2 separate regions of the Homo sapiens genome follow, and region 1 is linked to region 2. Evidence: promoter capture Hi-C in human tissues and cell types (Jung and others, 2019). All regions are on one chromosome and are shown on one strand. The core of a region is centred on a gene start or on the middle of the fragment in contact, and the rest is flanking DNA. Distances in the headings are between cores, read along the strand shown.

Evidence for each region. Contacts are between HindIII fragments. The study calls those that stand out against the background at their distance.
Region 1: a fragment that was not itself captured here is called in contact with the fragment with the promoter of CUL1 in region 2 in 1 of the 25 tissues and cell types used here (heart left ventricle).

The regions. Positions count from the first base shown.
Region 1 is chr7:148,962,080-148,966,583 of GRCh38, reverse strand. It overlaps RNY4. Among named protein-coding and RNA genes, the nearest start is that of GHET1, 23 kb to the left of the region's middle. RefSeq lists enhancers at 1,588-2,087, 2,088-2,589. The HindIII fragment of the contact is 4,639 bases long and covers 1-4,504 here.
Region 2 is chr7:148,697,586-148,702,538 of GRCh38, reverse strand. CUL1 (cullin 1) reads right to left here and starts at 3,636. Exons shown (of 22, transcript NM_003592.3): 1 at 3,510-3,636. RefSeq lists silencers at 2,632-2,731, 3,032-4,061, 4,722-4,781 and enhancers at 2,609-3,334, 4,402-4,451. The HindIII fragment of the contact is 3,848 bases long and covers 2,913-4,953 here.

The sequences.
Region 1 (4,504 bases), core at 1,056-3,555, 270 kb before region 2:
CCGTTTTTACTAAAAATACAAAAAATCAGCCAGGCGTGGTGGCGGGCGCCTGTAGTCCCAGCTACTCGGGAGGCTGAGGCAGGAGAATGGCGTGAACCCGGGAGGCGGAGCTTGCAGTGAGCCGAGATCGTGCCACTGCACTCCAGCCTGGGCGACAGAGCAAGACTCCGTCTCAAACAAACAAAAAATTAGCATTACCTTATTTATGATTCACCAATTCCACTTCTGGGTGTGAACCCGAAAGAATCTGGCCGGGCACGGTGGCTCAAGCCTGTAGTCTCAGTGCTTTGGGAGACTGAGGTGGGAACATAGCTTGAGCTCAGGAGTTCGAGACCAGCCTGGGCAACATAGTGAGACCCCCGTGTCTGCAAATAATTTTAAAACTTGGCTGGGCACGGTGGCTCATGCCTGTAATCCCAGCACTTTGGGAGGCCGAAGCGGGTGGATCACTTGAGGTCAGGATTTCGAGACCAGCCTGGCCAACATGGTGAAACCTCAAATCTACTAAAAATACAAAAATTAGCTGGGCATGGTGGCACATGCCTGTAGTTCCAGCTACTTCGGAGGCTGAGACAAGAGAATCACTTGAACCTGGGAGGCGGAGGTTGCAGTGAGCCATGATAGCACCGTTGCATTCTAGTCTGGGTGACAGAGCAAGACCTTGTCTCAAAAAAAAAAAAAAAAAAAAAAAGAAAAAAGAAAAAAAGACTTGAAAGCAGGGACTAGAAGGGAAGATATGTGTACACCTGTGTTCATAGCAGCATAGTTCACAATTAGCCATAAGGTAGAAGCAACCAAGTACCCATCGAGGGACATGAATGAGTAAACGCAATGTGGTATGTACAGTCATCTACAGTCGTCCCTCGGTATCTGTGGGCAGTGGTTCCAGGACCCCTGCTGGATCCCAAAATCCATGGTTGCTTAAGCCCCTCATAAGATGGTGTAGAATTGCCGGGCGTGGTGGCTCACACCTGTAATCCCAGCACTTTGGGAGCCTGAGGTGGGTGGATCACGTAAGGTCAGGAGTTCGAGACCAGCCTGGCCAACATGGTGAAACCGTTTCTACTAAAAATACAAAAATTAGCCGGGTGTGGTGGTGGGTGCCTGTAATCCCAGCTACTCAGGAGGCTGAGGCAGGAGAATCACTTGAATCCAGGAGGTGGAGGTTGCGGTGAGCCGCGATCACACCATTGTACTCCCAGCCTGGGTGACAAGAGCAAAACCTCCGTCTCAAAAAAAAAAAAAGATGTAGAATTTACATATAACCTATGCACATCCTCCCATATACTTATAAATCATCTCTAGATTACAAGTACAGATTTAGATAATACCTAATACGATGTACATGATATAGAAATAGTTATTATGCTGTATTCTTTAATGAATAATGACCCTGAAAAAGTCTATGTTCAGAACAGACAAAACTATCTATTTTTTCCCCCTAATATTTTCAGTCAGCGGTTGGTTGAATCCATGAATGTGGAACCTGCAGATGCGGAGGGCCAACTATCTTTTTTTTTTTTTTTGAGATGGAGTCTCATTCTGTCACCTAGGCTGGAGTGCAATGGCACAATGTGGGCTCATCGCAACCTCCGCCTTCCAGGTTCAAGCGAGTCTCCTGCCTCAGCCTCCAGAGCAGCTGGGATTACAGGCACCCACCACCATGCCTGAAAAATGTTTTCTATTTTTAGTAGAGACAGGGTTTCACCATTGGCAGGCTGGTCTCGAACTCCTGACCTCAAGTTATCCACCTGCTTTGACCTCCCGAAGTGCTGGGATTACAGACGTGAGCCACCGCATCTGACCCTAACTATCGTTTTAAAGGCACACTTGTCCCCCTCCCTGTTTCCTCCTAAAACAGCGAGCCGGCATCCCTGCCTCCTCCTAGGCGTTCTTATTTGGTGTAGGATGGTGATAAAGCCACCCCATTCCTTTCCTTACACAGAATCCCTCCCCTTTTGGGGTCGGCATTTTCTTGGACAATCAAATGTTCTTGGAGCTGCTGACTGCCTCAGGGATCTTTTTTTACAAGAAATAGTGGTGATCATGATTGGGCTACAACAGCTGCTGGGGTGGTCCTGATCCCTGGGGCCAGGACTGGGAGGACTGAGAAATGTGGCCAAGGCATCAAGGCTCAGGGGTCGCACCCTCAGCCATTCTTGAGACCCTCTCACCAGCAGCACAAGGCGATGCTGCCTCTCAGGCCCAGGGCGGCTGCCCAGGAATCAGCTTTCTGTGGCCGCTTTTCTTCCTTTTCCAGGAGGCCTTTGTTGTTAACCCTTTGGTGCATCAGGAAGTTGATCATTCCATTCCGTAGAGACGGAAGCAAACAAGGAAAGGAAAAAAATAACTCTGATGCTGAAACAATGTTGATGAAAGCTTAATTGAGAAGTTTCTTGGAGAGACTCCACCGAACAGAATCGGTTGAGCAGAAAATTGAAACAGACACAAACACTGTCTGTTTTGGATCGGACTGGTTTTTATTCTGGAGATAAAGTGCAGCAAGGATTGTGAATAAATATGAGGGCTGGGGGACACAGCGCTGTCAAGTTAACCGTTCTGTGCAAACGCAAAGCTGGCGGACAGGGGCCTCCTTGTTTGAGGACAACGGCCCCGACTGAGGCTCTGGGCTGACAGGAAACGCACCTATAGTCCCAGCTACTTGGGAGGCTGAAGCAGGAAAATTGCTTAAACCTGGGAAGTGGAGGTTGCAGTGAACCGAGATCGCACCACTGCACTCCAGCCTGGGCAACAGACTGAGATTCTGGCTCAAAAAAAAAAAAAAGTACATTCAGGCTGGGCACAGCGGCTAACGCCTGTAATGCCAGCACTTTGGGAGGCCAAGGCAGCAGGATAACTTGAGCCAAAGGAGTTGGAGACCAGCCTGGGCAATATAGTGAGACCCTGCCTCTACAAAAAAGGAAAAAAAATAACTGGATATGGTGGCATGTGTCTGTAGTCCCAGCTACTCAAGAGGCTAAGGTAGGAGGATTGCTTGAGCCCAGGAGTTTAGAGCTACAGTGAGCTATGATTGTGCTACTGTACTCCAACCTGGACAACACAGTAAGACCCTAAAAAGAAAAGGAGGGGGACATTTATGTAAGAATGCTTTCCCCCCAACATGAATATTTTGTAAAGTTAGCTTGTTTGATTGAAATACAAAATCAAATGGTAAAAAGCCAGTCAAATTTAGCAGTGGGGGGTTGTATACCAACTTTAGTGACACTAATGTTAATAAGTTCTGATAACCCACTACCATCGGACCAGCCAGAAAAACTGCTTTCACTTTCATTTTATAAATCTCTGAAGTGGCTACTCTAAATAAGTTAGGATGAGTTATTTTAAGAATTCTCCAAAAAGTCTGATATTATATGACCCCTACAAAATAATACTGCAAAAAGCCATACATTATCTGATTATCTTCCTTTAATTTTAAATAGCTTAATGCAAACTGATATTCAAAATAAATGTAGTTGCATGATGGGAAATAGACGTAAATTACCAAATGGAAGCCTCTTGTCCTTTGCAAATACCTGAAGACATTCATGAATCAAAGAAAAGTAAATGAACATATTTGTGTCAAATGCCCAGCAATAGAAACGTTGAACATTTAATGTCAACAAAATGAGCTTTGGTGTTTTTTTTTTTGTCGTCTCCCTGCCTGTGATCTGCAAAATGCCTTCCTGAATCAAGGCAGCAGCAGATGGCAGCAGTGCCCAGAGCATGCACTTTCCATCCACTTTCCCACGGAGCCTGGACCAGAGAACTCCTCACCCACGAACACACTGTTTTCACATCACCCACAAACACGCTGTATTCACATCACCCACGAACACGCTGTGTTCACACTGGTTGTTTCCTGGGACTTTTCCTGATAATCCTTAATAGTTCCTATAAATCACATGGGTACGCCAGGTTTAATATGCTCAGATCTCTCACCTTTCAGACAGGTTGCTGCTGGCATTGAGAAGTTGCCATAATCCTGAAAACAGCCTTTTACCAATGGTTTTATCAATGAAAGCCAAATCCCTCTCAATGATTAGATATAAGCACTCTCACTGAGTTTAGTAAGAAATCCCACATTAACCAGAAAAAAAAGGAATGAAAAGGATTAGAAAGTGATCAATAAACCTTAACTATTATTATCTTTGCCTATCAAATCTCAATTTTCCTGTTTTAAGTCATTCATATTTTAACATACCAAATGTTAAAGTATTAGGTTGGTGCAAAAGTAATTGTGGTTTTTGCCATTAGTTTTAATAATAATTGGAAGGTTTCAACTGACAGAAGAAAATGTATGTTCAAGATTATGATTAACTTGAATGCTTAGGAAATGTCACTTTCTTTCTTTCTTTTCTTTCTTTTTTTTTTTTTTGAGATGGAGTCTTGCCCTGTTGCCCAGGCTGGAGTGCAGTGGCCTGATCTCGGCTCACTGCAACCTCCTCCTAGGTTCAAGCCATTCTCCTGCCTCAGTCTCTCAAATAGCTGGGACTACAGGCACATG
Region 2 (4,953 bases), core at 2,387-4,886:
TTTTTAAACATGAATACAATACTTAATGTTCTTTAAGACCGTTTTTCCAAAATCCTGTTAATGTTAAAAGCTGTGGCATTCCCATGGAATCCACATACTTTCGGGGCCTAAGGAAATCAACAGTGTCAATTAAAAACCATCTCATTTTAAAAACGAGGAAATATATGCCCTGCAAAGGTAAGCTTGAACTAGACTCCATGTCTTCTCTCCCAAGCAAGATGTTCTATACCTAAGCAAAAATAAATGACTTCAATCTCTCTCCCTCACGGAATTTTTAGAAATGAAACACCTCCATGAGTGAATAAAAAACTTAAGTCATTAAATGTTATAATAATTCTGTTTATAGTGTGTTTACTAAATCTTCATATTATAAACAGGAAACCTCCTATAAACAGGAAATTATGTCCTCAGTAGTAAACATAAGGCTTTTATCCAAATAGGATCTATTTTTCATTTAATGCTCATTTCTTCATTTGGAAGCAAAACAAACACACTGATAAACTACCAAATGTTTTTAAAAAGCAAGGCAACCTTAGAATTGGCCCTTAAAATGGTTAACACTCTTTTCTCCAGACATACCTAAAAGACAAGTTCAAAATGAAGCTGACAGTCCCCCAAAGACATTTTATTCCAGAATGACTCAAGGTCACTGGCTTTAGGACCTACGGAAGGCTGAAACAGCAAAACAAACAAAAAACCAAGTTCCTAAGTTTTTAAGGCCCTAATATTTTTAATTTGAAGAATGGCAAGTAACAACTCCTCAATTTAAAGTACATTCATTTTAATTTTCCATGCTGAAAGACAGACACCACTGGGTATACTGGGAATGACATTCTGATGAATGGCCCTCAGAGACCAAGGGATGGTTCCTCCTACAGCAACTTCCTATCCCACTCCAGCAGAACCATGGGGCTTGCCTCATCTACAAGGAGGAGCCTTAACTACCAAACTGCTTCATTGCAAAGGCAAGGCTGGATACTCAACCTGGGGGGAAAAACCTGATCGTGTTTCCAAAAAAACACCAAACACAAAAAGTAAAAACATCCACACCTTAAAACTAGTTTTAAGGGGGAAAAAAGTTAAAGTTTCACAACCTGTTTTCTTGGCACTTTCCCAGACTTCCATAGGTATAGAAAACCTGGGCATTTTTCTGTTAGGGCCCTGTACTAGATACTGGGGTGTTTCAGGGAGAAGGGAAGTGAAGAGGGAAGGGGGAATAGAAAAGGAGGGATGAGAGAGACGATCAATTTTACTCGAGAAGTGTATAATAAAGCTTGAATTCTTAACCGGCTTAAGCACAACGACTGTGTTTTCTGTAGCCAAAAATCAGCGCATGTTTTCAAACGTTAAGTTTAAGTTAGAATTATTCCAGAAAACTCATTCATTAAAAAAAAGCAACTGAGGCACCACCACAACCAAGTTCTGTTACTCTGGGGACGCAAAAACAAATAAGGAATATCTCCTGCGCTGGAGGAATTCACAATCGGAAATGTATGGGAAATAAGGCTGTCATGTAGTTAATTACAGCTAGAAGATAATATTCAGTAAGTGGCAAGAGTCTAATGAACTGTAATATCTAAGGAAACCATGCAGAATCAGCTCAGGCATGCGTGTCTGTCTTCTGATGTGGTACACACATTAGGAGTGGGGGGTGGGGCTGGCTATAAGGACCTGAGCATGTGGCTCTCAGGGAGGGAGGCTTTTATAAATTGGTGAAAAACCCTAGCATATCTAAATTTGGTTTGTTTTTTGACAAAATCGTTTTTAAAAGATGAAGCCAATGAGAAAAAAAGTTTAACATATTTAGAAAGCAATTCAGCCATCCCTCTCAAGCTTAAGGAACACTCTCCTGAAACCTCCAAAAATGGGCATTAATAGAGTTAAAGCGAGCCAGTCTTGTGTTTGCATGCTTTGGAATTTGAAATGTAACGCAACTATTTCGACTCACCATGGAAAACAACAAATAGAACCTTCAAGTAAAACATTTTTCAATATCCAAAAACAAACCTTCTTTAAACAAAGAAAAATCTCATCTCCAAATATCTTTTTCAAACAGAATGACTGGTTTTACATTTTAAACATCATTACATATTTTACTACGTAATACACTCTCCAGGATTTCAGAAAATCGGGTACATTTTCGGGTGCACCATGAAATGAAGTGTTAAACTTAAAACTGCACACACTTCTGCGAGGCGTTAAGCTATGCTTAGGTCCTAGAAGCTCATGGCTTGAAGTAAAAAAGGAATCTAGTTCCTCTTCTGCCGCTTCGTTAAGTGCATTCCAAAAAGTGTGATCGTTTACTCCACTCAGAACTTTTGACGATTTTAATGCTACTACAGGAAAGAGCAATTACACAGAGCAAACAAATATTTAAGTAGACTGCAATTCAGTATTTGCGCACTTACCACTAACCCCTACTACGAACCAGAAGCAACCAAGAGTGACCCAATCGGAAAAGAGAATCCTCTTTTTGGCAAAGCCAGCCAGGGAGAAAACCCTAACTTTGGGGATTCATTTCAAGGAATGTCTACAAGCATTCCTCTCTTTCTTATCTTATGTCTGCGCTACACAATACTGCACGGGTGGCAGAAACGGGGGTCTTTCAGATCTTAAGGGAAAAAAAAGCGACGACCCCCGAGTCTGGGGACCCCAAGTCCCAGCGGCCTGGCGGGCGCACGGCTACCCTCAGGGTCAGGGCGCGCGCTCCCGTTGGGACCGGGGGCGCGCCGAGGCCGCAGCGCAGGGCCCGGCCCGACTAGCGAGCGATAGGCGGGCGCCGGGGGGCTCTGTCCGGTTCGGCCGCCGGGCTAGCATCCCTGCGCGCATGCCCCGGCCCGCTCTCCCAGGAGAACGGGGCAAAAGGGCGACTGTTACCCAATAATAGCGCCCTGCACGTTCGCAACAATGCAGGCGGGGAACCCGAGAGCCGCGGGCAGGGAACCGGAAAGCGAGAGAGCCCGGCTCCGCGGCTGCTCCTGCGCTTGAGCCCAGAGCTCACAGGGGAACACGCGTCGGCCGGAAAGCAGCGCCGGGAAGAAGCGTGGGCGCGAGGGGGCAAGGGCACGGGTCCCGGCGTCCCGCGGAGGTCGCCTCACCAGGCGAGGCGCGGACGCCCGAGCCGCCCCGGGCCACACGTCGGCCCACCCTCCGAGAACCCAGCCCGGTCGCGGCGGGGAAAGGGGCCGGCGCCACCAGGCCGCCGCCTCCAGGCGCGATGAATCGTGCTTTTTCCCAGTGCGTAGTCCAGGCCTGGCCGCCCCGGCCCGTCCGGGGTGACTCAGGGCCCGGCCCCGCTCGCTCCTCTGCCACCTTCGGCGTCCTCCGCCCACGAGTCCCCCGGCCCGGCCGCCATTCTGCCCGGCCGCGTTTCGGCGGCTCAGGCCTCGCCAGGCGCCTGGTTTCGGCCGTCGCGGCCCGAGTCACTGCGACACCGCGGCTCGGGGCCGGGCCTGCGCCGCCGCCGCCGCCGCCACCTCCTCTCGGCCCCGGCGGCTGCCGACACTCACCCGCATCTCTGTGGTGCCCCAAAGGCTCCCGCGACGCCTCCGCCTGGTCCCTGGGCCTGGGCCCCGGCGAAAGCCCCGTCCCGCCAAGGTCTAGCTGCGTCCCTCAGCTACCGGGGCTGCCCCGCCTGGAGCTGCGTGCGACACGGCGCCCGCCTCCTCCTCCTCCCCTGCCCGCCCGGCCCTCCTCCTCCCGCCGCCGCCGCCTGCACCACGCAACCTCCGCCCTCTCGCCTTCCCTGCGCGGCTCCCCGCCCTCTCGGCCTCACCGGCTCCGGCGACCGCGGGGGAGAAGCTGTTGGGGGAGGGCCGGAACGCACCGCCATCGGCGTCCGGGGCGGGGGAGCCGGGAAACCGTCGTCGCCATCGCCCCGCCAGCCCGAGGCGCGGGAGGGGCCCGGAAAGCTCCCTCCCGCCCGCTCGCCGCTGCCGGCGGCCCCGGGGGCGCCCCTTCCGCGGCCGAGGCCCCCGCTCGCGTGGGGAAGCTTCTACCTGCGAGCCTGCGGCCCCTGCCCCCGGCACCCGAGACATCCCCGACCCGGCGCGCCGGATTCTCTGCCAGGTTTTACAGCCTCCCTCGCCTTGGGACCGCCGCGGAGGACCCGTTCCCGCCACTTCGGACCTCGCGAGCGGGGCTGAGCTGCTTGGGTCGGGGACACCACCAGCCTCTGGAGAAACGGCCCGAAGCACCCCGAAGAAGAGGGGGTCCCAGTCCCCTGCCCCTCCCTTGTGCGCACCCCCACCCCCAGCTTGCCTGGAACCTGACTCCACACCTTTGTCGACCGGGACAGGGACTGGGGGTTGCACCCCAGATCAGAAAGTCAGAGGTGGCCCTCCGAATCGGCGCGGACTTCCGAGGAACCTCAGCCAATTCTCGACCCCCTTACCACCTGCAAGGCCTTAGGAATCGGCTCCAGAAAGCTCGAGCTTATCTGCGTGTTTCGTTTTAAAAATCACTTCTAAGATAAAACCTAACTAGGCTTTCCCCTTCAGACTTTCAGTAACTCCTGTTTGGCAAATTTTGACATTCACTCTATCCTTCGTCTTTGTAAGGACATATCAAGACTTAGAAGGCTTTGATTACACATACGGATGGCATGAGTCGTGATATAAAATAGTATTGTTTTCACGTGTACTTCGAAGTCATCTCATTTGAAATTAACTGTCATAATTGACTATTTGGAATATTCAACCTAAATACTACCCGCTGCTGTGGTGACGGGGGGTGGAGGAAGCGTGGTGGAACCCCAACACCTAGTGAGGGGTGGCTGATTAATACCACGGCTCACAACATAACAGAGCGGCTCATTCCATGAACAACCCCGGGGGGATTTCGAATTCTATCATCTGGGCAAAAGATGTGATGAGTGTAACTTCCTGTTTTCTCCAAACTAAAACACTACGCAGATTCCTGTACCGCTCTGGGACAGAAATCCTCAGCCAGAGC